6 separate regions of the Homo sapiens genome follow, and regions 1, 2, 4, 5 and 6 are each linked to region 3. Evidence: promoter capture Hi-C in 16 types of primary human blood cells and fetal thymus (Javierre and others, 2016). All regions are on one chromosome and are shown on one strand. Each heading gives the region's core, a stretch centred on a gene start or on the middle of the fragment in contact. The rest is flanking DNA. Distances are from core to core; before and after follow the strand shown. Region 1 has its middle 32 kb from the start of LINC00237. Region 2 overlaps KIZ (kizuna centrosomal protein). Region 3 holds the start of NKX2-2 (NK2 homeobox 2). Region 4 overlaps KIZ (kizuna centrosomal protein). Region 5 has its middle 32 kb from the start of KIZ-AS1. Region 6 holds the start of KIZ (kizuna centrosomal protein).

Region 1 (3,782 bases), core at 708-3,207, 440 kb before region 3:
AACCAGGAAGGAGGCCAAGCCAGGTGCAGTTTCAAGCTCATCACCAGGGAAAGTGACTTTGCTTCAGTCCACCCAACACGGGTCTTTCCTCACTGTGCCCAGACCAGGGCAAGCACACTACAGTGTTTATAGCCCTGCTCCATCTGGCATTGTTAAGGGGGACCCCTAAGGAGACATAAATTCCAGGCACTTCTGGTGAGCATCAAAGGTGAAGAACCCTAAAGGCAGACTGTGGACAGAGAGATGCAGGCAATGGCTTTGGGGAGCTAATATGTATGGGAATGCCCTGGCTGACATAACCTTGTCTGTTGCAGTGTCCTGGCTCCTAACTCAGTCTGAGCAAATGAAGGAGAATCAGGAATTTGAAGGAAGTTCTCTAATGTCTTCCATTTTCAGCCTTAGAACAGTGATGGGCTTTAAAGCAAGGCACCTCTATGCAGACGCTTGTCTACCATGTATAGATCATGACATCATAGGCAGGACATCAGTTAACTGTTTTGTTTTGTTTTGTTTTGTTTTGTTTTGTTTTGTTTTGTTTTTTCAGACTGAGTCTCACTTCGTCGCCCAGGCTGGAGTGCAGTGGCACAATCTTGGCTCACTGCAACCTCTGCCTCACGAGTTCAAGCAATTCTCCTGCCTCAGCCTCCCAAGTAGCTGGGATTACAAGCGCCCGCCACCACACCCGGCTAATTTTTGTATTTTTAGCAGAAGCGGGATTTCACCGTGTTGGCCATGCTGGTCTCGAACTCCTCACCTCAAGTGATCTGCCTGTTGTTTTAAGCCACATTTTCCTCATCTATAACTGGAGATGACACTAGTTCTTATAGCAGAAAGCTTGGCTTAGTGCCTGGCATAGAGTAAGTGGCCACACAAGTTCCTGTCATTATTACTATTGTGTTGTTGTTGTTGTTGTTGTTGCTTAGAGACAGGGTCTCACTCTGTGGCCTGGCTGGAGTGAAGTAGAGAAATCACAGCTCACTGCATTCTCAGATTCCTGGGCTCAAGCCATCCTCATGCTTCAGCCTCCCCAAATAGCTAGGACTACAGGCGCACACCACCATACCCAGCTAATTTTTATTTTTACTTTTTGTAGAAACCGGGTCTCACTATGTTGCCCAGGCTGGTCTTGAACTGTTTGCCTCAAGCAATTCTCCTGCCTCTGCCCCCCAAAGTGCTGGGATTACCAATGTGAGCCACCTTGGTTGGCCCCTATTATTTAGCAGAACTTTCCTCAGTGTCTGGCAAACAAGACCTAAAGGACTTTGAGCTGCTTAAACAACCACTAGAAAGCACCTTAAGAAACAAAGATGCCCATGTATTTACTATTTATATAAAATACATAAACAGGAGGAAATCACATAAATCACAAGCTGCTATTTCCCTTAGAATCTACAACAACCATATTATTTTATGAAAAACTGGACCATATTAAATTACTCAGGCCTCGGAAATTTGTAAACGTGTACAATTCCGCATTGGAAACAGCCGTTTATATGTACTGTCACTTAAAACACAAATTATGGTTATTGTAAAAGATTTTAATTCACATAAATTTACGGGTAAAAACCACATATCTAGGAGAGAACTACTCAGGGCTTGCCACACATATAAAGAGGCTGCCGGAAGTCCCGGCAGCTGGTTACCGTCTCTTATGATGACAGGGGCTGGGTAGGATGGAGGATAAGAAGGGAAGGTGCCAGGTGCAGCGGCTCACACCTGTAATCCCAGCACTTCGAGAGGCCAAGGCGGTAAGATCACTTGAACCCAGGAGTTCAAGACCAACTGGGCAACATAGTGGGACCCCATTTCTACAAAACGAACAAACAAATAATTAGCTGAGGTGGTGGCATGCACCTGTCGTCACTGTAGTCCCAGCAACTTGGGAGGCTGAGATGGGAGAATTGCTTGAGCCCAGGAGGGCAAGGCTGCAGTGAGCCATGATTGCACCACTGTACTCCAGCCTAGGTGACAGAGTGAGACCTTGTCTCAAAAAATATATATAATTTGTAGCATCTGCTACAAATGTTTTTAAAATGTACTGTGACTCAGAACATGGTGAAATGTATGATTATGTGAATCCATTTTAGAACCCAACTTTTATTACAGGAAGCAGAATACCTTGGAACGTTATTACTTCTAAAACTTTTTTCCATGAAATGAACCTTGAAAACTATGCTCTATCTAATAGGTCTCTGGACAATTATATATAATCATCTTTCCTCTTAGAAAGAACTACTTTTTAATCCAGTTCTCCTTATCCACATGACAAGTCCATCATAACTTTGACACATCATATACCCTGAGCCAGTAGTCTAATGTATCATAAATTAATGCCAGCACCAATACAACATTTTGATCACCATATCTGTTACAGAAAAATCTAAATGTGTTAAAACCATCTGATAACTCTGCCCTCAAGTTTTCCAGGCCATTTAATTATTAAATTTCCCTTGTGAAAGGGATCTGTATTGTATGCAATTCAGACTTCGGTGGATGGCAAGGGTTTTTTTCCTGAGGTCACCAGTGCTTTTAACCACTGCCTAAAGAGCATCCTGTGCTGATTAACATGCCTCGGATTAACTAGATTTCGCATGTGGCAATCATACTCCATTCAGCAGGGCCCATCTCTGGTGAATCGTGGACATTAATGACAGTTGCAAGAGCTCAAATATTATATAATCACTAATTACATTCTGTGCAATTAGTGGAGGCTCATCAGTGTGAATCACTAATGGCTGATCACCCTGTTCTCTCTGGGAAGAAATAGACGGTCTGCATAATTTTCTGATTGTATTAGCATAGACACAAACGTTATTAACGAACTTTGGCGACCATGAAGAGGCTCGATGCCTGTGATGGACAAAGGCAAGAGGCTCCGCTTGATGGGCACAGACACTTCATTTTGAACATGAGCACTGTGTTTGTGGTTTTCTGGTATGACTCACTCACTCCTCACCTTCTGAATGGAAACTGCACGCAACATCTTGGCCACTCAGCCAATAAATAACTTGCACACAAGTCCAGTTTAAAAAAAAAATAACTGTGGATTTGTATTTTTCTTAAATCGGTTTTCAGAGAGCCAAGCTTTAAGAATTGTGGGACATTTAAATATATAGCTGGTGACTAAATAGGAGAAACACCTCTGAAATGGTAGAGAGATTATCTGAATTTTATTTAACCCTCTGTATGTTGGGCCACTATATTAGTTTGCCAGTGCTGCCGTAATAAAATATCACAGTTTGGATGGCCTAAACAATAGAAGTTTATTTCTCACAATCCACAGGCTGAAAGTCAGAGGCAAGTTTGGCTTCTCCTGAGGCCTCCTCTCTCCTTGGCTTGCAGGTGGCTGTCTTCTTGCTGCGTCTCCACATGGCTTTTTCTCTGTGCGAAGGCATCCCTGATGTCTCTCTGTGTGTGTGGGTTTCCTTTTCTTATCAGGATATAGTCAGATTGAATTAGGGCTCACCCATATGACTCACTTTATCTTAATTACCTATTTATTTATTTATTTCTGAGACAGGATTTTGCTCTGTCGCCCAGGCTGGAGTGCAATGGCGCAATCTCGGCTCACTGCAATCTCTGCCTCCCAGGTTCAAGCGGTTCTCCTGCCTCAGCCTCCTGAGAAGCTGGGATTACAGGCACATGCCACCATGCCCAGCTGATTTTTATATTTTTAGTAGAGACAGGGTTTTGCCTTGTTGGCCTGGCAGGTCTCGAACTCCTGGCTTCAAGCGATCCGCCCGCCTTGGTCTCACAAAGTGCTGGGACTACAGGTCTGAGCC
Region 2 (3,862 bases), core at 456-2,955, 330 kb before region 3:
GCCCAACAGGGTCTCGAACTCCTGGCCTCAAGTGATCCACCCACCTTAGCCTCCCAAAGTGCTGGGATTACAAGCGTGAGCCACCACGCCCAACCCTACTTTTTTTTTTTTTTTTAAACAGAGTCTTGCTCTGTTGCCCAGGCTGGAGTGCAGTGACGCCATCCTGGCTCACCACAGCCTCAACCTCCCAGGTTCAAGCAGTTCTCCTGCCTCAGCCTCCCGAGTAACTGGGACTACAGACGTGTGCCACCATGCCCTGCTGGAATTATTCTACATTCTAAGTTCATAGGAAAATTAATCTTTGAATTTTGAGAACCGTCTCAAAATTGGTTTACTAAAACTTGGGCACCTGCTATATAGTTTGCCTACTAGAAGATAATAAAATGAATGAGAGTACCAAATGAAAAATAATGGAAAGTATGGAAGTTGCTGATCTCGACAGATTCTTAAATCATGGACGTATGTGTTAATGGTTTGATTTTTATATTGTGTACATATATTTATTGTTTACTAGTAAAAAATGTTCTAATTTATGTGATAAATGGAATATATCAATACTTCATGGCAAAAATTTTTGTGAATTTCAGGTGTTCTGCCACCTTAAACGTTGAAAAGCACTGCTTTCCAGGATAGCCAAATCCCTAAAAGAATTTCTGGTCATGAGACTGATTATCCTTACTGATCAGCTGTGTCACACATCACATGGACATATGATGTCCATGTGATGGACTGGACTGGGCATGGTTGTTTTAGGAGCATGACTGGCATCTGTAATCATGAGTACACTTGGAATCCGTTTCTTCCGTTTCGAAAAGTCCACTTACCCGGAATTGGGACTTGTCTGACATCCCCTAAACTCTGACACTGACAAAAGAGGTCATTGCATCTGGTTCCCAGCTACTTCCATACTTTCCATTATTTTTCATTCGGTACTCTCATTCATTTTATTATCTTCTAGTAGGCAAACTAGATAGCAGATGCCAAAGCTTTAGTAAACCAATTTTGGGAAGGTTCTCAAAATTATAAAGAGTAATTTTCCTAAGAACTTAGAAAAGACCACTTTACTCAAATGTAGAATAATTCTACTAAAATATATCTGAGAATCACTACAGTAAAGAAAACAAACTCAAATCTAACAGGCTGTCCTAGGAGAGCCAGTTAGCTTTTGTTGTTTTCTTGCTTACATCCCGCCTTCCCTTCTTCCACACTTAATCCATTTATCCATTCATAATACTTGTTCTTGTCCACTTTCATTTTTCTTATTTCTTCTTTTTGTCTTTGGCTTCCTCTTAGCAGCTTCTTAGACAAACAAGCACTTGAATAATAAATTGATTCAGCATCTTCAGTTTAATACAGGGCAGGTTGAGCATCCCAAATCCCCAAATCCAAAGTCCGAAATGCTCCAAAATCTGAAACTTTTTGAGTGCCAACATGATGAATGTTTATTGGAGCATTTCAGATTTGGGATACTTATATTCCAAAATCAAAAAATAAAAATTAAAAAAAAACACAATTCAAAATCTGAAAAAATTCAAAATCCAAATTCCCAACCATTTCAGATAAAGGATACTCAACCTATATTGATCCTCTAAGGGTTCAACAGCAAACCAGCCCAATCCTTTCAGCCATCCTATATTTGGTGTCTACCATGCTCAGGGAGCAGGAGGCATGATATTCATAAGCCAGGCATTTCACTGTTATCATGGAAGTAGACCCCGAGCAAAGTCAGAACCCAGGATGGGACCTGCCCTACTCATCTGAGTGCCCCCTCAGTGGAGGATAACTCTGTACTAGACCCATTCCCATTCATCAGACTAAATTGGCCTCTGTGGAGACTCACTTATCCTAGAGAAGTGACATGGCAGCTTATTTCAGGGTCTCAGCATTGCCTGAGCCGAAATTCAGTAAGCCTATCCACCGTGCCATCATGCCTTCTTGTTTCCCTTCTCCCTGAATCCGCTCACCTAGTGTAACCCTCACCAGCCCAGTCTGAGCCTCCTCGTCTCCTCTCTTAAACACACGTGTATATATGGATAGAAACAGACAGACAGACATGGAACAACACAGCAGAGTCTGATGTTTTGTTTTATGGTCCTGCGTCAGCCGTTAATCCTCACAAAGATAATTCTACCTTGACAACACCAGATACCTTTTCATCATCATCATTTAACCTCTAGAGTTTAATGATAGAACTGATTATAATGTCTAGTAAATTCTTTATGATATGTTTGTAGTATTTTAAAACTTTTTGAAAATACAGAGCCTAATTGTATTAAATTTGGGGAAGGCATAAAGTTGTATGATAATAAGACATTTACCCTCGTTGGGCCTCAGAAAATGACACCCCAAAGGGAAGGCCCCAGAAGTAAGTTTCTCTCTGATCTTCTCCCACTCTCCTGTACCTCAGCCTCATTTTCTCAGAGGTAAGCTTTAGAAACTAGAATTCCTTTTCCTCAAAGTGAATCATAAAAACCTGAACCCATTTTCCCCAAAGCCAGCCATAAAACCTAAAAATATTACTCGAATTTCCCTCCTGTATTTCTGTGGCAGAGTTGGCCGTAAAGAAATTCTCTAACCTACCCTGTTTGATTGTGAGTCGTAAGACTCCCCATTTCAGAAAGGGTCCTGCCCCATACCAGGGAGGAAGGAACACTGCACAGAGACGCCAAGAAGAATGAACAGACAGGCCTGGCAGAGTTTCCCCACTCAGTCTGTTAGCATTCAATCATACTTACCTTCTTGGCCAAGCACAGTTCTACATGGTTGTCTGTTCTTCACTGAACTTCAGCATAAAAATGGAAAGTTTTCCCAATATCCTTAGGTCTTCAATCTGAAGGCTGCCATGTCACAGAAAACAATGATCAAATAAAATTTGTTTTGTTTTCTTCTGTTAACCTGTTTGTTATAAGGGTGTTGACTGTGACCCTTATGATGAGGAGGAAAGGGATCACCCCTTCTGACCCTACACCCTCCACATTTTTTTTTTTTAGTAGATATTTAAAGCGGTCACTTTAGGTAGCTGGCTCCATAATAAGCCCTGGAGATCTGTTTTGCATTTTATTTTATTTATTTATTTATTTATTTATTTATTTATTTATTTTTGAGACGGAGTCTTGCCCTGTCACCCAGGCTGGAGTGCAGTGGCACGATCTGGGCTCACTGCAAGCTCTGCCTCCTGGGTTCACGCCATTCTCCTGCCTCAGCCTCCCAAGTAGCTGAGACTACAGGCGCCTGCCACCACGCCCAGCTAATTTTTGTGTGTGTGTGTTTTTTTGGTAGAGACGGGGTTTCACCGTGTCAGCCAGGATGGTCTCGATCTCCTGACCTCATGATCCACCTGCCTCGGCCTCCCAAAGTGCTGGGATTACAGGTGTGAGCCACCCCGCCCAGCCTGTTTTGTATTTTATTTTAAGAGACGGAGTCTTGCTATGTTGCCCAGGCTGGTCTCAAACTCCTAGGTTCAAGCAGTCCTCCCACATTGGCTTCCCAAAGTGCTGGGATTAGAGGTATGAGCCACCATCCTGCATGCTGTTTATGCATCTCAGTTGGAGAACTCAGCCAGCACCCTAATGACTTCACCCTTCTATGGCTGCTGATTTGGAAGAAACCCAGGGAAGCAAGAGTAAATTTTCCCAATCTTTACCTGTCCAGTCAGGAGGATTTTTTCAACCTGAAAAAAACAGAACCCCTATTCGGTTAAAGGGGTTAAGTTTGGGATCCATAGAATTACCAAAGAGAGAATGCTATTCATTTCATAAAGGATGTCTGCCACCATTACAAATGATCCTTGGCTATTAAAAATGGGTGATTGGTTCAGGCGGTTTAAGGGTGGAGGAACAAATGCGTGATGGGTTCTCTCTTT
Region 3 (3,740 bases), core at 796-3,295:
CAGCGACTGCGCGCTGTAGGCAGAAAAGGGAATGCCCGCCTGGAAGGTGGCGGCTGCCAGGTCCTGGGCTTTGAGCGCGTGACATGGTTTGCCGTCCCTGACCAAGACGGGCACGGCCACCCGGCGCGGCGAGGGCAGGGGCGTCACCTCCATACCTTTCTCGGCCCGGGCGCGCTTCATCTTGTAGCGGTGGTTCTGGAACCAGATCTTGACCTGCGTGGGCGTGAGGCGGATGAGGCTGGCCAGGTGTTCGCGCTCGGGCGCCGACAGGTACCGCTGCTGCCGAAAGCGCCGCTCCAGCTCGTAGGTCTGCGCCTTGGAGAAAAGCACTCGCCGCTTTCGCTTCTTGCCGGCGTCCCCCCCGCCGCCCGGGGTCTCCTTGTCATTGTCCGGTGACTCGTCGGCCGAGGGCTCCGGGGACTTGGAGCTTGAGTCCTGAGGGGGCGCCCCGGCAGCCAGACCGTGCACTGGGGGGAGGGGGAGAGAGAAGCGCGTCAGGCGTCTGGAGGCCGCGCGCAGCCTGCACCAGACTCGGAGCACCCTGGATCCTCCGTGCGACCCTGGACCTCCGCGCCTGGCAGCCCAGCCCCGCTGCCTTTGCCATGACCCCTGCCTTCCTCTACGCCTGACGAAGACGTCGGGACCTCCCAGGGTAAAGAGGGAAATCCGTAGGAGTGGGGGCTAGGGGCTCGCCTTTCAAGGGGCTCACATAGTGTGGGTGAGAATTTGGGGGGGGAAGTGGCACTGAAGATCATCGCGGGTTAAGGGCTCCGGCGCCCTTAAGCGGTTTCCTCTCCGGCGAGACGTGGGCAGATTTTTAAAAGAAATACCCCACAATCCCAGCATTGATCGGCTCGGCCATTTAAGGCAGGTTTTTGGGGGCTTTCGTTTCTGCTTTCGGGCCTTCTAGACACCCCCTGCACTGCACAAAGCGTCCTCTATGATCGCGCAGGGGGCAGGGTGAGCTATTTATACCCGGGCCACCCGAAGCCTCCCCACCCTCCACCCGTACCCGGACGAGGCTCGCTGGCTACCTCCAGGGCGCCAGGCCAGTCCCTCCCAGCGGCCGGAGTCCGGGGGCTGCGGCTGGAGCCATCGGTCCGGGTTGACATCATATACCAGCCCCTGGGAGGTATAGCCCTTCTCCCTCTTTCTCCTTAACTTCTCGCATTGAAAAAAATTTTGGAGACCAAGTTCTTTCCCGGAACTAAGGAGGCTTGAAGAGGAGGGCAGAGGACATCCTATACAGGTGTTAAAAATCTTTCTACGGATCCGAGTGAGGGGGTCCGGGCTTACATGGCCCCTTCCCCTTTCACTCCCAGCGTCCAACCCGGGCTGCGGCTGCAGGAATGGAGGGGACCACGGCCTCGGCAGCCAAGTTTTGCTACTTACGGGAGTACTGAAGGCCCTCGGTGCTGGCCAGCCAGCGCGTGTACGGGTTGTCGCTGCTGTCGTAGAAGGGGTTCTTCAGGGGCAGGCTCTGCACCGCGTCCAGGGCGCCCTGCCCCAGCGGCCCGGCCCTCTTGGCTGGCTCGGGCCCCTCGTTCTCTTCCTCCGGACCTTCGGCCACAGAGCCCTCCTCATCGTTGGTGTCCGGCAGGTCTAAGATGTCCTTGACCGAAAACCCCGTCTTTGTGTTGGTCAGCGACATGGTTCGAGACCCCAAAATTTATGTCGCAAAGTTGTAGCTTCACTTGGTCAATTCGTGGCGCTCCCCTGCCCCGGCGGGCGGGGGAGGGGGGAGTTGGGGGGAGGGACTGGGGGAGGGGAGGGGGGAATTGGCTTTAATTATTGGGATAATTATTATTTTTAAAAAGAGAAAGAAACTGGGGATGGGGAGGAAAAAAATGAAGCCCAACCCAGTGCCTCTCTCTGTCTTCTTTGAAAGCACGCGGAAATGGACGCAGGAAGCCGGGCGGCCTGCGCGCCGAGCGCCGCGGGCCCCGGCCTTAGTTTCTAACTCCAGGAGGGGTGCCAAGGCGGCGTCAGCTCGGGCTCCGGCGGCCGCTCGGCGCGCGGTGGCGGCTGGTGGCGAGGAAAAAATGGGCCATTGCCCGAGCGATCAGTCCATATAAGGCTGGGCTCCACTCACGAACCTGGGGAGGCGGGGAGAGGGGGAGAAAGAGAGGGAGGGAGGGAAAGAAAGAGGGAGGGAGGGGGAGCGAGAGAGGGAGCGGGAGAAGGGTGGAAAAAAGGGGGAAGAGACATTAAAAACGCAAAGGTTGGCCACGTGTGGGCGGGTCTTGGGAGTCAAGTGGATGAAGACAGTATTTGCAGATGTGAAATTGTGGGTTTTGGGGAGCTCCGCGCTCCCAGCCAACGGCCCTCTAGAGCAAGATGAGAGGTGTAACGTGTCAATTAATTGCAAAGACGGGGCGAGCCTTTTTTTTTTTAAACCCAGTATTTACATACAAAGGGCCACCGCGTCGCTCGCGAGTCCACACACTTGAAAGGGCCGTTTTAACAAATTGCATCTTAAAAAAGGTGGGGGTGGGGAGGAGGAGGGGAGAAAACAAAACAGAAACCAGGAGGAGGGAAAAAATCCTCTTTAACATTCACCGGTTCCTACCTCCCCGCCCCCGCGCGCCCACCCCCGGCAAGCCGGAAAATTGGCGATTTGTGGCGCCTTTGGAAAAGGGGGAGGGGGCGAAGGCCGAGCTGCGGAAATCTCTCCTTTCCATCGTTGGTGGTTGCCTAAACAAGATCCGGTTCAAATGGCAAGAGCCCAACTTCTGTAAGCCTCCTAGGTCAATATTTTGGTTGAGGCTTAAGGATGAGTGCTAGAAATGACAAGGCAAGTAATTGATTCCAGTTAACCGCGAGAGAGCCCAAAACCCAGGAGAGAGCTCCGCTCCGGGCCGGCCAGAGCCACCACCAAGCGACCCGCCCCCTTCCAGCCGCCCTTTATTTGCTAAAGACTCATTTATTTCCTTCACTCCGCCTCCCCCCACCTCCCACCCCCAACCCCCCGCCTCCACCTCTCTGCGGCCAAGGAGGACGCGCAGTTCACTTTCTGCTTTGCGGGCGGTCCCGGGGAGGGCGGGGTAAGAGTGAGGAGCTCCAACTTCGTCTGGGGTCGGACCCTGGCCCTGCTGCCTCTGGGCTCTGCGGGCCTCTTTCCCCGGGTGGAGGAAAGGGCAGACGGCCCTGCTCTTTCCTGCCCTCTATTATCCCTCCCTCTCCGGCCCCCTCCCTCTCCAGCCTCTGGCTAGAGGTGGAGCAGCGGGAAGGCGGCGGGGCGGGATTGCGGGGGTGGGGGTGGGGGTTGTGTCTCCAGCCTGGGTGAAGACCCAGAAAGCTGCGGGGGAGGGGGGTCGCTGGGTGGCCCGACGATGCCTCGTTTTCTCCCCAGTTTTCTTCTCCCACGCGAGTTCTTTAGTGTGGTCTCTTTTTGGACGCCTTGGGTGCGTTCGGAGTACGCGCTCCACGTTTCCAGGTTAAGTCAGGTTAGTGTGAAGTTTCCAGCCACTCTCGGCTCTGGGAACTGAACTTTCCCGGGACTTGCACTTCCTCCTCGGCGCTGGGGTTGGAAAAGACCACGCCGCATTTGCCACCCCTTCTTCTAGTTAAAACTTTTTTGGGGGGGGGGTGCAGGGGTGTAGATTGGCTACCTGATGCTCGTTCGCCCCAGAGGAGTGTCAGGAAGGAGCTTTGTCTGGGGGCGGGGAGGGGCACAGAAGGCCACCCCTGCGGGGTCCAGGTCTAGTCTTCCCACAACCTGGGCTCCTCCGCGCGGGCCA
Region 4 (3,861 bases), core at 1,362-3,861, 300 kb before region 3:
TTATTAGCTATTTGTATTTCTTTTTTCATAATTTGCCAGCTCATGTTCTTTGCTCATTTTTGTATTAGGTTAGTAATATTATTTCTTATTGACTTGCAAAAACTTTTTAAATATAAATTTGGACATTTTGTTGCAATCTTTTTAGCAGTTTAATTTTTGTCTTTTAATTTTCTTAATGGTGTTTTGGATACAATGTCTTTTCTATTAATGTCTTACATCTGTCTGTTTATACATTTGAATATCACAACCGTAAGTTTTTGGATATAATTTAAGAGTCAGCTTAGATGATTCTTGGGGTTCTAGATAGAGCAAGATTAATATTTAAACTGAACATGGAGGAAAATTCTAGTAGAACTGGGCTAATAAAGGAATAGTACTGTAGGTGTAACTCATAGAACGATTTATCTGCCATAATGTCTGAAATATGGAGGTGTCAACATCAGTCATTCCACAAATAGTTTGTGCCCTGGCATTTAATTTCCAAGTCCTTTCTCCTGGCTCCTGGGGAGGCTGAAAAGTGAGGGGGTGGTTTGTTCGTACTGACTTAGCCTTCAGACTGCTGAGACCAATGGAACAATCTCTAGTTTTCTCTTCTGGCCTCCGAAAAGAGAGCCTTTATTAATAACAGGTAAGTTGAAACCCAAGCATAGTTCAATCATAAGCACTATCAGAAAGCCTGTGGTAAAATTGTTGTCTAATGGCATTTTTTTCAGAGAATTAGCTCCAATTTGCAGAACCCATTTAGTCCCAGCATGAGATGTAATAAAGCAACCTGTTAACTGTTCTCTGAGCTTCTCTCTGTGTTAGTGTCATCAGTCTCAGACTGCAAACTCCTTCAGATTGGAGGTTTCCTTAGAAATACACTTTTCTGGAACATCTGCAAACAGTACATCTTGAGAATGTGTTACAGACGTTTTCCTGACTGCAGAAGTTGTTTTTGCAAGGCACAGTGGCTCACGCCTATAATCCCGGCACTTTGGGAGGCCCAGGAACGCAGATCACGTGAGGACAGGAGTTCGAGACCAGCCTGGCCAACATGGTGAAACCCCGTCTCTACTAAAAATACAAAAATTAGCCTGGTTTGGTGACACACGCCTGTAATCCCAGCTACTTGGGAGGCTGAGGCATGAGAATCACTTGAACCTGGGAGGTGGAGGTTACAATGAGCCAAGATCCCGCCACTGCACTCCAGCTTGGGCAAGAGAGAGAGACTCTGTCTCAAAAAGAAGTTGTTTTTGACTAGAAATCTGTGACCTGTTCTTGTCTATCCTTGTCTGAGACTAACTTTTGTCTTCGTCCCTGCTTATCATCTTTGAGAAATTATCTGTGGAATTATCTTAAAAGATGTGTTCTTTTATAAACATTTCTATCAAAAAAGTAACAGAAATCCTGGAGATAAGTATTGAGTAGTGAAGATAAATGGGATAAAATACAGATAGTCCCTGACTTCCAACTTACAATGGTTCAACTTACAATTTTTTGATTTTACAGTGGTGTGAAAGTGTTAGGCATTCAGTGGAAACCATACTACAAGTAGTACAGTATCCAATAAATTACATGTGAAAATCAACATTTTATTATAAAATAGGCTTAGTGTTAAATGATTTTACTCATTTGTAAGCTAATGTAAGTGTTCTGAGCAGTTTAAGGTAGGCAAAGCTTAACTATGATGTTCAGTAGGTTAGGTGTGTTAAATACATTTCTGACTTACAATTTTTTCAATTTGTGGGTTTATTGGATGTAACTCCCTTCATAAATTGAAGGAGCGTCTGTGTACAAAGTAAATTGAACTAGCAGTGCAGTATGCCCACCACATTATTTACCTCACCGTGGAAAAGAGGGCTCAGTGCAGAACTGTTGGCAATGGCAGTATTCTTGTCAAGCCTACAAGGACTCATTAGAAAGGTGTTTGTAGTAGATTCCAGAAGCAGGTGCAGTGCAGTGGTCTGTGTAGGCAGTTGGGATGGGGGCAGTGATGGGAACCAGCCTTGGCCTGGCCTTCAAGGGCAGGACCCTACCCCTAGACTGCAGAAATGGGAATACTGAGCAAGTCATCCCAACAGAGTTATCACAGTGGAGTGAAATCTAGGGACTAGTTTCTAGAAATAGAGGAAAAGCCCCTGGTCACTAGAACTGCACCACAGAAAGGTCCTGGCTGCAAGGCTAACTTGACACCAAGTTCTTTGGCCAAGGGGACTAGAACTCCTTAAATCCCCCAATCAGCTACTCCAGCTCCTCAGGTAGGCCATGGGTCCAGGTCAGCCAGTACTAGGGAGGGAAGAAGGCAAGAACTCTGCAGGGAAGTCAGGACTAAAGGCAGTTGCCTTGAAGCGTCTGAAATGCCAAACATGCAAGACCAGACCTTCCATCCAGACCTTCTGTCCGGGCCTTCTTACCGGGCCTTCCGTCCGGGCCTTCCGACCGGACCTTCCATGCTCTGACTCTCCCTGTCGGAGTGTCTTCACCTTGTTTCATGTTAATCACAAGGAAGGTTGTTTTTTCCACCTTGTTCACTGGATAGTTACATTGTTAACACTTCACTCTTGGCTAATGATGACCTGTGAACATTTGTCCACTTCTGCTCTTTATATTAATTTTAAACTGTCATGTGCATTTTCCCACAATTGGGTTGAACACTACCCAGTATTTACTGTCATTGTCAGCTACCTGTGGGTCACCACCACCACCGAGGTTTCCTCTCCAGCTACCTAAGGAAATCGCCACCTGTCAATAGGAAATGAGAGAAACATACACTCTGGCAGCGGGATAATGTGACCAATGGTTATCTACTAAAAGTTTAACTCTTATTACCAGCATATTTGTATTTCTTAGGGGAAAGTACTGACCTGAAAATCAAAAGACTTGGCTACTAACCCCAGTCCTGTGAATTGCCCCTTTTTCTCCACCTCTAAGGTTGGCTCTGATAAAAACCTGTGTCCTCCTCCTTGCTCAGGACACATGAGGCATTTAAGTAAGACAATGCCTTTGAAAAAAGATAGGCAGTGTGGTGGGTGAGTTTCCCCAGATCCCCAGACGACTTACAGGCAAAGTGCAGACCATCTTAGTACTTGATTGAAGATTGGGATTTAGAATAAGGGCAGTTATCTTTCTTCTCAGTGCATCCTCTTCAGCCACAAATTTTTCTGCAATCTTCCTGTTTAGGGGAAATTCATGGGTCATTTTTAGGAGGGTGGGGATATGGCAAGGTCACATCTTTCCGGATCTTTTTCTCAGTTGAAAGTAATTCTGTCTGACATGCCTAGAAAATAGGATTCATGTAATCAAAGAATAAATTTTTCCTTCAGAAAGGAGGTCTGAGGCTCTACCTTTTGTATATATCGAAGGGAGGATAAACCTGCCCAGATTAACAGAGGTGGTCACGTTTCATATACATACTTAACAAGCAGAAGAATATTTCTGCATTACATAAGATTCAGCCCTCAAAAAGTGTATTATTGTGAGGGTAACTTGTAAAGAATTAGATTATAGTAGAAAATAACCAGGTGTTTTTTTTCTTGACATTTTAATTTCATTTAAATGTGGGAAACAGATTAAATCCTAAGTAAAGCTTAACTTAAAATTATATTTGAAGGCTATCTTTGAGACCAAGAGGAATGTGGCTACAGTTTGTTTTTATTTCTTTGTGCTTTTTTTGAAACACTGTAGGCAACAGCATTATTGAGAAAAGCCCTTACAGAAGAGTGTGGCCGTAGGTCAGCTATTCACAGTAGTGAATCATCTTGCAGCTTGCCATCTATTCTGAATGACAATAGTGGAATAAAGGAAGCCAAACCTGCTGTATGGCTCAACAGTGTTCCTACAAGGGAACAAGGTAACTATTGTTAAAGTGTGTGTCCACAG
Region 5 (3,920 bases), core at 904-3,403, 260 kb before region 3:
TGTGGTTGCAAAAGATACCACCAGGAAAGTTAAGGCCAGGTGCAGTGGCTCATGCCTGTAATCCCAGCACTTTGGGTGGTCAAGGTGGGTGGATCATTTGAGATCAGGAGTTCGAGACCAGCTTGGCCAACATGGTGAAACCCCATCTGTACTAAAAATATATAAAGCCAGGCGTGGTGGCACGCACCTGTAGTCCCAGCAACTCAGGAGTCTGAGGCAGGAGAATCACTTGAACCCAGGAGGCGGAGGTTGCAGTGAGCCAAGAGAGCACCACTGCACTCCAGCCTGGGTGACAGAGTGAGACTCCCATTTCAAAAAAAAAAAAAAAGAGTGAAAAGACAATCTATAGAATGAGGAAAGTATTTGCAAATTATACATCTAAAAATGGACTTGTATCCAGAAATACATAAATAACTCTTATGACTCAATAATTTAAAAAACCCCGATTTTGAAAATGGGCAAAGGATCTGAATAGATATTTCTCCAAAGAAGATATACAAATGGCCAATAAGATGCATGGCATCATTGGTCTTCAAGGAAATGCAAATCAAAACCACAGTGAGGTACCCCTTCATGCCCTCTAGCATGACTGGAATCAAAAAGTCAGGTAACAGAAGTAGTGAGGAGGTGGAGAAATCGCTGGCAGGGATGTGAAATGGTGCAGCAGCTTTGATAAACACTCTAGTAGTTCCTGAAAAGGTTAAACATAGAGGGATTATGACCTAATGATTCTACTCCAAGAGAAACAAAAACATATCCACACAAAAACTTGTACAGGAATATTTATAGAAGAATTATTCATAAGAGCCAAAGAGTAGAAACAACCCAAATGTCCATCACTTATAAATGGATAAACAGAATATCCATACAGTAGAATATCATTCCTCAATAAAAAGGCATGGAGTACTAATCCATGCTACAACATGGGTGAACCTTGAAAACATTATTCTAAGTGAAAGAAGTCACTCACAAAAGACCACATAATGTCAGATTCATTTCTGTGCAGTGTCTAGGACAGGAAAATCCATAGACAAATGAGTAGTTGTCTAGGCCTGGGGTCGGGAGAGGAGTGACTACTGATATGAGGGATTTTGGCAGGGATAATGAAAATGTCCTAAAATTCATTGTGCTGATGATTGTATAATTCTGTGGATACACTGAAAACCATTGAAGTGTACACTTTAAATAGGTGAATTATATGCTCTGTAAATTACATGTCAATACTGTTTAGAAAAAGGAAATTGGTAATTCATACATCTTGGGGTGTAGTGACTACAGGCAACTCTTGGTGCAACACTTTCTCACTTTTAAATGGTCACTTTAGTCAATGTCAGAAGTTAATTGTGCAACTCAGGAGCCTGGGACTCATGGTGGGTCATGTGACTACTCTGGCTTCCTTTGAGCCCTCAGAATCTCTGAAATTGAAATGATTTTTAAAGCATTGTGTGTATTTTGTTTTTAAATCACCTCCTGCTTGTCACTTACCTACTCAAGAACTTGGGAGATGTCTTTGATTCACTCCTTTATTCTCCCTTCTTTCCACTCAAATTACCAAGGCCTTTCCTATCTCTTCCCTGCCATCATCACCATCCCCATCTGAGCCTTCACACCTGAGTTTCTGCAGCAGGTGTCTTGATATTGCCCTTGGCAACTAAGAAAAATCCTGCCATGGGTTTCCTTTTTCTTTCTTCTTAAAAAGGTATAACTTGGGTATTATTAATTTGCTAATAATAAAATAGCTGCTATTTATTGAGCACCCTATTATAACCCAGACACTTTGCTTGCTCAGCATAGAAACCAACTCAAAGCTGATGTAGAGACTAGGAATCTGCATTTTTAGTGATTCCTGTGGGAATCACTGTTCTAGAAAGACAGCTATCTACTATGAGGAAATAAATCCAACTCTGAAATCCATGTTTTTATCCATTTGATGGGAGGCAAGGAATGTTGGCTGTTTGGTTTTTTGTTGTTGTTGTTTGTTTTGTTTTGTTTTTTGTTTTTCTTCATTATGTTGTTCTGGCTTAGTTGTTCTAATAAAATATTTCATTCTTTGGTTTTTAAAACTTTTAAGCTTTATACTACAGCGTTATTTTTCTATATTCTCTCTTCCCTATCCACAATTATTAAATAATGGGAGTTGACTCTAATGGTAATTCTCCACATAAATAAAGGGGGTACTTTATGGCTCAAAGCACACGATGGAAAGATTTAGAATCACGCTATTTTAGGACTGGAAAAGCTTTTAGAGATCACATGGTCTTTGAATTTTAGAGTCAAAAAGGACATTATTCATCAAAACTTCTCATTTTAGAAAACTTGGTCAAAAGTGATACATAAATATGGCAGCTAAGTGAAGAGCAATATAGATACTAACTTGTCAGTAGACACTAAGAAGACAAAGAGAAGCGTGCCTGGCAAGGATTGAAGTTAAATGGAAAAATGTGGCTTGCATTGGCCAATGCAATGTGAACACAAGTAACCAATGCCACTTTTGGTTAGAAGCTTTAGTGCTATGTGTGATTCTCTCCTCTTTCCTGCATCAGCAGCCATGGCAGCATGGGACAAGTGGAGCCTCCATCAGCCTGGCTGCATCAGTGACTAGGAAGAGCAGACCTCCCCTGCTAATCATGTTTGCACCACTGGAATTGGCAGGTTGTTACCACAGGAAAATTCTGGTCTATCCTGACCAATATACTATTCTTCCATTTACGTATACTCTTTTTTTTTTTTTTTTTTTTTTGAGACAGAGTCTCACTCAGTGGCCCAGGCTGGAGTGCAGTGGCAGGGTCTCAGCTCACTGCAACCTCCACCTCCCAAGTGATTCTCCCGCCTCAGCCTCCCGAGTAGCTGGGATCACAGGCATGCGCCACCATGCCTAATTTATATATTTTTAGTAGAGAGGGTTTCACCATGTTGGCCAAGCTATTCTCGAACTCCTGACCTCAAGTGATCTGCCCGCCTCTGCGTCCCAAAATGCTGGAATTACAGGCATGAGCCACCACGCCCAGCTATTTATGTATATTCTGATTAGGCCACGTGTAATTTAATTTTGGAGTGGTGAGACTTGCAAGGTTTCCTAAATGCTCACTGAATAAACATTACACCTTTGAGATTTTTTTAAAGAAAATTTGATTCTGAATAAAGAACATATTTTTTCCTTTTTCCAGTTAAGAACCTCAAGTATCTGTGGTTAGACTATTTCTAAATGAAGTGGTAACAATTACAGTTGCAGAAGGTGAGGAACAAGTTGCACACCTTGGGGCAGGGATTGGGGGACATTTTTAGAACTGAGCTGTGGTAGTCAATAAACGGGAGTCTGTTGACAGGAAAACCTCCAGAAACCACAGCCTGCGGGGAAGCCCTCTGTGGTTTCTGGAAAGCAGGCACAGCATCTGGAGCATTTCCCTGGGTATTTGTATGTATCTCCACTGGAAAGTAGCAAATGAACTGGGTTCCTCCAACCATCTGACCCAAGAGGTAGAACTGAATTCTCCCTCCTCCCCCCATTTCTAATGTGGGCTGGACTTAGTGACTCACTTCCACAGAATAGAGATGGAAAGGGGGAAATAGTAATGGTACAGTGGAGAAACCTGCCTGACACCACCTTACGTGATGAAGGTTAACACCCATGAGTCATGACTCGTGTGGATATCTGGAACCCTGACATGCTGCCGGGAGACGGGCACTTCTCCTCTATAGTGTTCTTTCTGAAAAATCTTAACCACAGCTTAATCATGAAAAATATCAGATAACCTTGGGACATTTGACAAAACACCCAGCCATTACTCCTCAAAACAGACAGTGTCATGAAAACCAAGGAAAGACTAAGAAACTTTCACAGACCAGAGGAGAAAGAGACATGACAACTAAAATGCATTGTGGGGCCCTGGTGGGATCCTCGAACCAAAAAAAGGACATTC
Region 6 (3,860 bases), core at 594-3,093, 390 kb before region 3:
TTTGTCATACGTCATTAATGAATCAACCATAGGATGTAAATTATAATTATTTTGAATTATCTATTTACTGTTTAATTACATTTAATTTTAGATTCTCCTAAAATGGCCTAATAAAAATTTTGGGTGCTAAATGACTGCCTCATCTGCTTACTCTGTGCTACTTGCTAAAATTAGTTATATTAATTGTTTGGGGATTCTTTTTCTTAAAAAAAAAAACTAACCCTGGGGGCATGGTCCTAAATAAAATATCCTAAAAATTTAATGCTTTTCTTTTCTTTGCCAGGGTTGTAGTAAAATGTTAGTTACACTAAACTCATTAAAATAAACCTTTGCACATTACCACTGAATCAATTGGATATAATCTGAATAAAAACTAAATAAAAGTCACATCAGTGCTACCCTTGGACCAGGGCAAGAAGGCCTCTGCCCTGGCTTCTGTGTATTAGAGGTTCTGTTCTAGCCCTTCTCTGCCCATGCTGCTCCACGCAAGGCAAGGAGGTCCCAGGGCCAGATGACAGGCCCACCTGGGGTGCTCACACACATACACACACATGCTCTTCTAGAACACGTTCTAAGTACCCAACACCCTTACCTTCCCTGCTCAAAGGGGCCCAAGCTGCTTTCTAAGGCTTTAAAAGGCCTCTTGGCTGGGTCTTTCCTGCAAGGGTGACCATCACTGGCATGCTCACTGCCCGGCCAAGAGGAGGCTGAGGTGGGGATGTAGGCAGAGTTGGGACTTGCTGGCTGGAGAAGAGGAGGAGAAGAGGCAGGGCACACACATCCCTGCTAGTGTATGAGACCCCCTCACAAAGCAAGACTGAGCCTGGGGTGGGAAATGGAGTTGGGGGGAGCTGGAGAAGCAGGCAAACTAAATTCCACCCTGGTTGTCCAGGTTCTTAAGAAGGCATATTGGTCAAAGTGGAGAGGAGAACACGTATTTTACCTAAGTTTGTTATCTTGAATTATAATTCAATATTTAGGCGGATGGTATGAGGGCCTCCATTCACACTCTTGCCCTGGAACTGGCAAATGTGAATGGAAGGCTGAGTAAAATCATAGTTTTGTGTTGTTGGCCTTTGAGTGTTCCATCTCTCTTACAATTTTAGTTTGTCACACCTTGCACCTTGTATGTGTAAGTAAAATTAATGGCATAGGAAAGAAACCAAAAGAAGTGAACAATAAGAGACTAAAGAAACTCTACAGGCCGGGCATGGTGGCTCATGCAAGTAATCCTAACACTTTGGGAGGCCAAGGTGGGTGGATCACCTGAGGTTGGGAGTTCAAGACCAGCCTGGCCAACATGGTGAAACCCCGTCTCTCCTTAAAATATAAAAAATACCAAAAAAAACAAAAATTATCTGGGTGTGGTAGCGCACACCTGTAATCCCAGTTATTCAGGAGGCTGAGGCACGAGAATCTTTTGAACCCGGGAGGCAGAGCTTGCAGTGAGCCGAGATCACGCCACTGCACTCCAGCCTGGGCAACAGAGTGAGACTCTGTCTCAAAAAAAAAAAAAAAAAAAAGGAAAGGAAGGCAGAGAAGCAGGCTAAGGCTTAATTTTTCTGCCCAGTGGGTTTTGAAATATGGTTGGCTTCCTTCAGGAAGCTTTTTCCCGACGTTGGTGATGATAATAAAACCTGATGCTTTCTATGTGCTGGGCCCACTTATAAACACTAACACATATTAACAATCGAATCCTAAACTAATCCTGTGTTAACAGCCTCCCACTTTACATATGAGGAAACCTGGGGTGACTTGCACACGGCTTGGCAGCTGGGACGTGGATAGGGAATGTACACCCAGGCAGTCTGGCTCCCGGGCTCCTGCTAGAGGATCCTACAGGACATTAGGAGCATTGTCCCTTAGAGCTGTCTGCACAAACGTCTGCTTCCCAAGCAACTAGTTATCAACTTTTCCCTCTCGCCAACGATACTGGCACCTGGAACAATCCTTAGATTCAGCACGGATTTTCGAGTAAGGGGTTGGTCCACTGTCGGGGCTGAGCACGGCTGTTTAGCATTTGAGGGTTTGTCTTTTTTTACTTGGTGTTTTGTGTCGCTTTTGAGTGCTGATATAATAGAACAAGCTTAGTACAGTGCCTGGCACTCAACAAATCCTGGCAAGAAAGGAGATCGAGGAAAAGAAGCAAGCGAGAGACGAAAGAAAGGGAGGGAATGCGCCTTGTAACATTAACGTAGCTTGTGCGAATCCTGGAAGGTGAGGGGAAAGGAGACACCGCGTCAAGGGAGAGAGGAGAGGGCACCGAGCGCCCGCCCCTCCGACGTGGTCCGCCCCGGCCTCACGACGCCCCGCCTCTGCCACGCCTCTTCCCCGCCCCATGCAGGTCTTCGTCCCGCCCCCCACAAAGCCGGCTTCCGCCCCGTCCCTCAGCGGCGCCCCGCCCCCACGGCGTCTTGCCCCGCCTCCTGCAGGCGGCCCGGCGCGGTGTTTACCCGCGGTGCATGGTGGGGCGGTCTCCTTCGGCAACCCCGGCCGAACGGCCACCCAGAGGCTGTGCTGAGCTGGCGCAGCGGCAGCAGCATGAGCCGGACCCTCGCATCGGCCGTGCCCCTGTCGAGTCCCGACTACTACGAGAGGCTGGGCCAACTCCAGCACGGGCTGCGGGACAGGTAAGGGCACTGGGGCGGGGGTGGGGAGTCGGCCCGCGCCGGGGGTCTTCCGCGTGCCCTGCCCCATTTTCCTTCCCGCTCCCCCGTCCGAGGTTCCCCGGGGCCCAGGCCCGCGCGCAACGCCCCCCAGGCTCCCAGTGGGGCCTGGAGGACAGTGTTTACTAGAGCCACCCCCTGTATTGGGGGTGGGAGCGGAGAGAGGTGAGAGACCGCCCCCGCCCCGTCAATAGCAGCTAAAGCCTGGTCTACGGTTTGAGGATGCGGCCGCGTCACAGAATTTGCCCAGAAGTGAAGGTGGGAGTTCTTCTGCCTGTCACTCTCCATCAAGCCTTGTGAGTTTCTCTTGTCCCCTTTTACACGCCCCCTCCCCACTCTCTTCAAATTGCCATCCCGCCGTGACAGCTGCACTGCATCAATGATGACAAGTCCTGGAACGCAGACGGTTGTGTGTGTGTGTGTCAAACATGTGCCCCCGTTTAAACTCAGGAGACTTTTAGGGGTAGCGAGGGCTGGCTAGATTTCCAGCGAAGGGATGAAATTTCCAGCTAGAGAAGTCCAGCTTCCAGAGGGTTCATGATGCCTTTGATTAAGATATGAAAGATGGGAACCACTGAAAACAGCTAGATCTAAGAGTGCATATAGAGAGAAAATTATACCGCAATGTACTATGAATAACCACGTAAAAGATAAATTGCTGGACCTCTTATTTAGCTGCTAAGTTAATTGGAGTTGTAACTCTCATTAGTTGACAAGAAAGGAAATACATTTTTGGATCTCTTGATAAACAAAACATTTAATGAGTGTTAAAAGTTACAAAATCATTCTAGTGAACAGGAGAGCTGTGTGCGTGACAGTGCTAAAATGATAACAATAATTACATGGAAAATAAAGGCAGAAGTGAGCGATTTTGAAAAGGAATTACATTTATCTTACGCTAGATTTAATTCTTGTCAGATATTTATAGAGCATCTACAACAGGCTTCCTTAATTGTCGTTAGCATTTTTTTTACCTTGTACTCCTTTTCTACGTCCTATTTTCTTTCTGACATGTCACCGCTCACCCATATCAGTGACCTCTTAATTTCTGACTTTAAAAAGAAATCTCTTCCTGTAGAGCCTTCCCTGTTTCAACCCATTCCCTAACTTTTGTGACTCTTGGCATTCTTACAGCACTCATAAATGGCATTCTTTTTGAACTATTAATTGTAAGTTATTTTTGTTTCCTGTGCT

The links. The method cuts DNA at HindIII sites, captures the fragments that hold promoters and counts their contacts. A CHiCAGO score of 5 or more calls a contact.
Region 1: a contact is called between a fragment that was not itself captured here and the fragment with the promoter of NKX2-2 in region 3, in 1 of 17 cell types (neutrophils). The highest score is 6.1, in neutrophils.
Region 2: a contact is called between a fragment that was not itself captured here and the fragment with the promoter of NKX2-2 in region 3, in 1 of 17 cell types (M1 macrophages). The highest score is 5.0, in M1 macrophages.
Region 4: a fragment that was not itself captured here is called in contact with the fragment with the promoter of NKX2-2 in region 3 in 13 of 17 cell types (neutrophils, monocytes, M0 macrophages and 10 more); the score reaches 8.5 in neutrophils.
Region 5: a fragment that was not itself captured here is called in contact with the fragment with the promoter of NKX2-2 in region 3 in 10 of 17 cell types (M0 macrophages, megakaryocytes, erythroblasts and 7 more); the score reaches 9.5 in M0 macrophages.
Region 6: a fragment that was not itself captured here is called in contact with the fragment with the promoter of NKX2-2 in region 3 in 2 of 17 cell types (activated CD4 T cells and naive CD4 T cells); the score reaches 7.9 in activated CD4 T cells.

The regions. Positions count from the first base shown.
Region 1 is chr20:21,072,226-21,076,007 of GRCh38, forward strand. No RefSeq gene overlaps it. Among named protein-coding and RNA genes, the nearest start is that of LINC00237, 32 kb to the right of the region's middle. The HindIII fragment of the contact is 2,250 bases long and covers 833-3,082 here.
Region 2 is chr20:21,185,616-21,189,477 of GRCh38, forward strand. The region is part of intron 6 of KIZ (kizuna centrosomal protein); the gene reads left to right. Among named protein-coding and RNA genes, the nearest start is that of KIZ-AS1, 31 kb to the right of the region's middle. The HindIII fragment of the contact is 1,442 bases long and covers 985-2,426 here.
Region 3 is chr20:21,512,019-21,515,758 of GRCh38, forward strand. NKX2-2 (NK2 homeobox 2) reads right to left here and starts at 2,046. Exons shown (of 2, transcript NM_002509.4): 1 at 1,393-2,046; 2 at 1-467. The coding sequence starts at 1,651. The HindIII fragment of the contact is 7,883 bases long and covers 1-3,740 here.
Region 4 is chr20:21,210,869-21,214,729 of GRCh38, forward strand. It overlaps KIZ (kizuna centrosomal protein), which reads left to right. Exons shown (of 13, transcript NM_018474.6): 8 at 3,667-3,832. KIZ-AS1 (KIZ antisense RNA 1) reads right to left here. Exons shown (of 8, transcript NR_109956.1): 2 at 3,043-3,154; 3 at 2,668-2,724. Among named protein-coding and RNA genes, the nearest start is that of KIZ-AS1, 5.5 kb to the right of the region's middle. The HindIII fragment of the contact is 1,909 bases long and covers 1,658-3,566 here.
Region 5 is chr20:21,247,972-21,251,891 of GRCh38, forward strand. No RefSeq gene overlaps it. Among named protein-coding and RNA genes, the nearest start is that of KIZ-AS1, 32 kb to the left of the region's middle. The HindIII fragment of the contact is 168 bases long and covers 2,070-2,237 here.
Region 6 is chr20:21,123,575-21,127,434 of GRCh38, forward strand. KIZ (kizuna centrosomal protein) reads left to right here and starts at 2,508. Exons shown (of 13, transcript NM_018474.6): 1 at 2,508-2,630. The coding sequence starts at 2,542. RefSeq lists enhancers at 1,977-2,076, 2,977-3,026 and a silencer at 2,237-2,816. The HindIII fragment of the contact is 481 bases long and covers 1,604-2,084 here.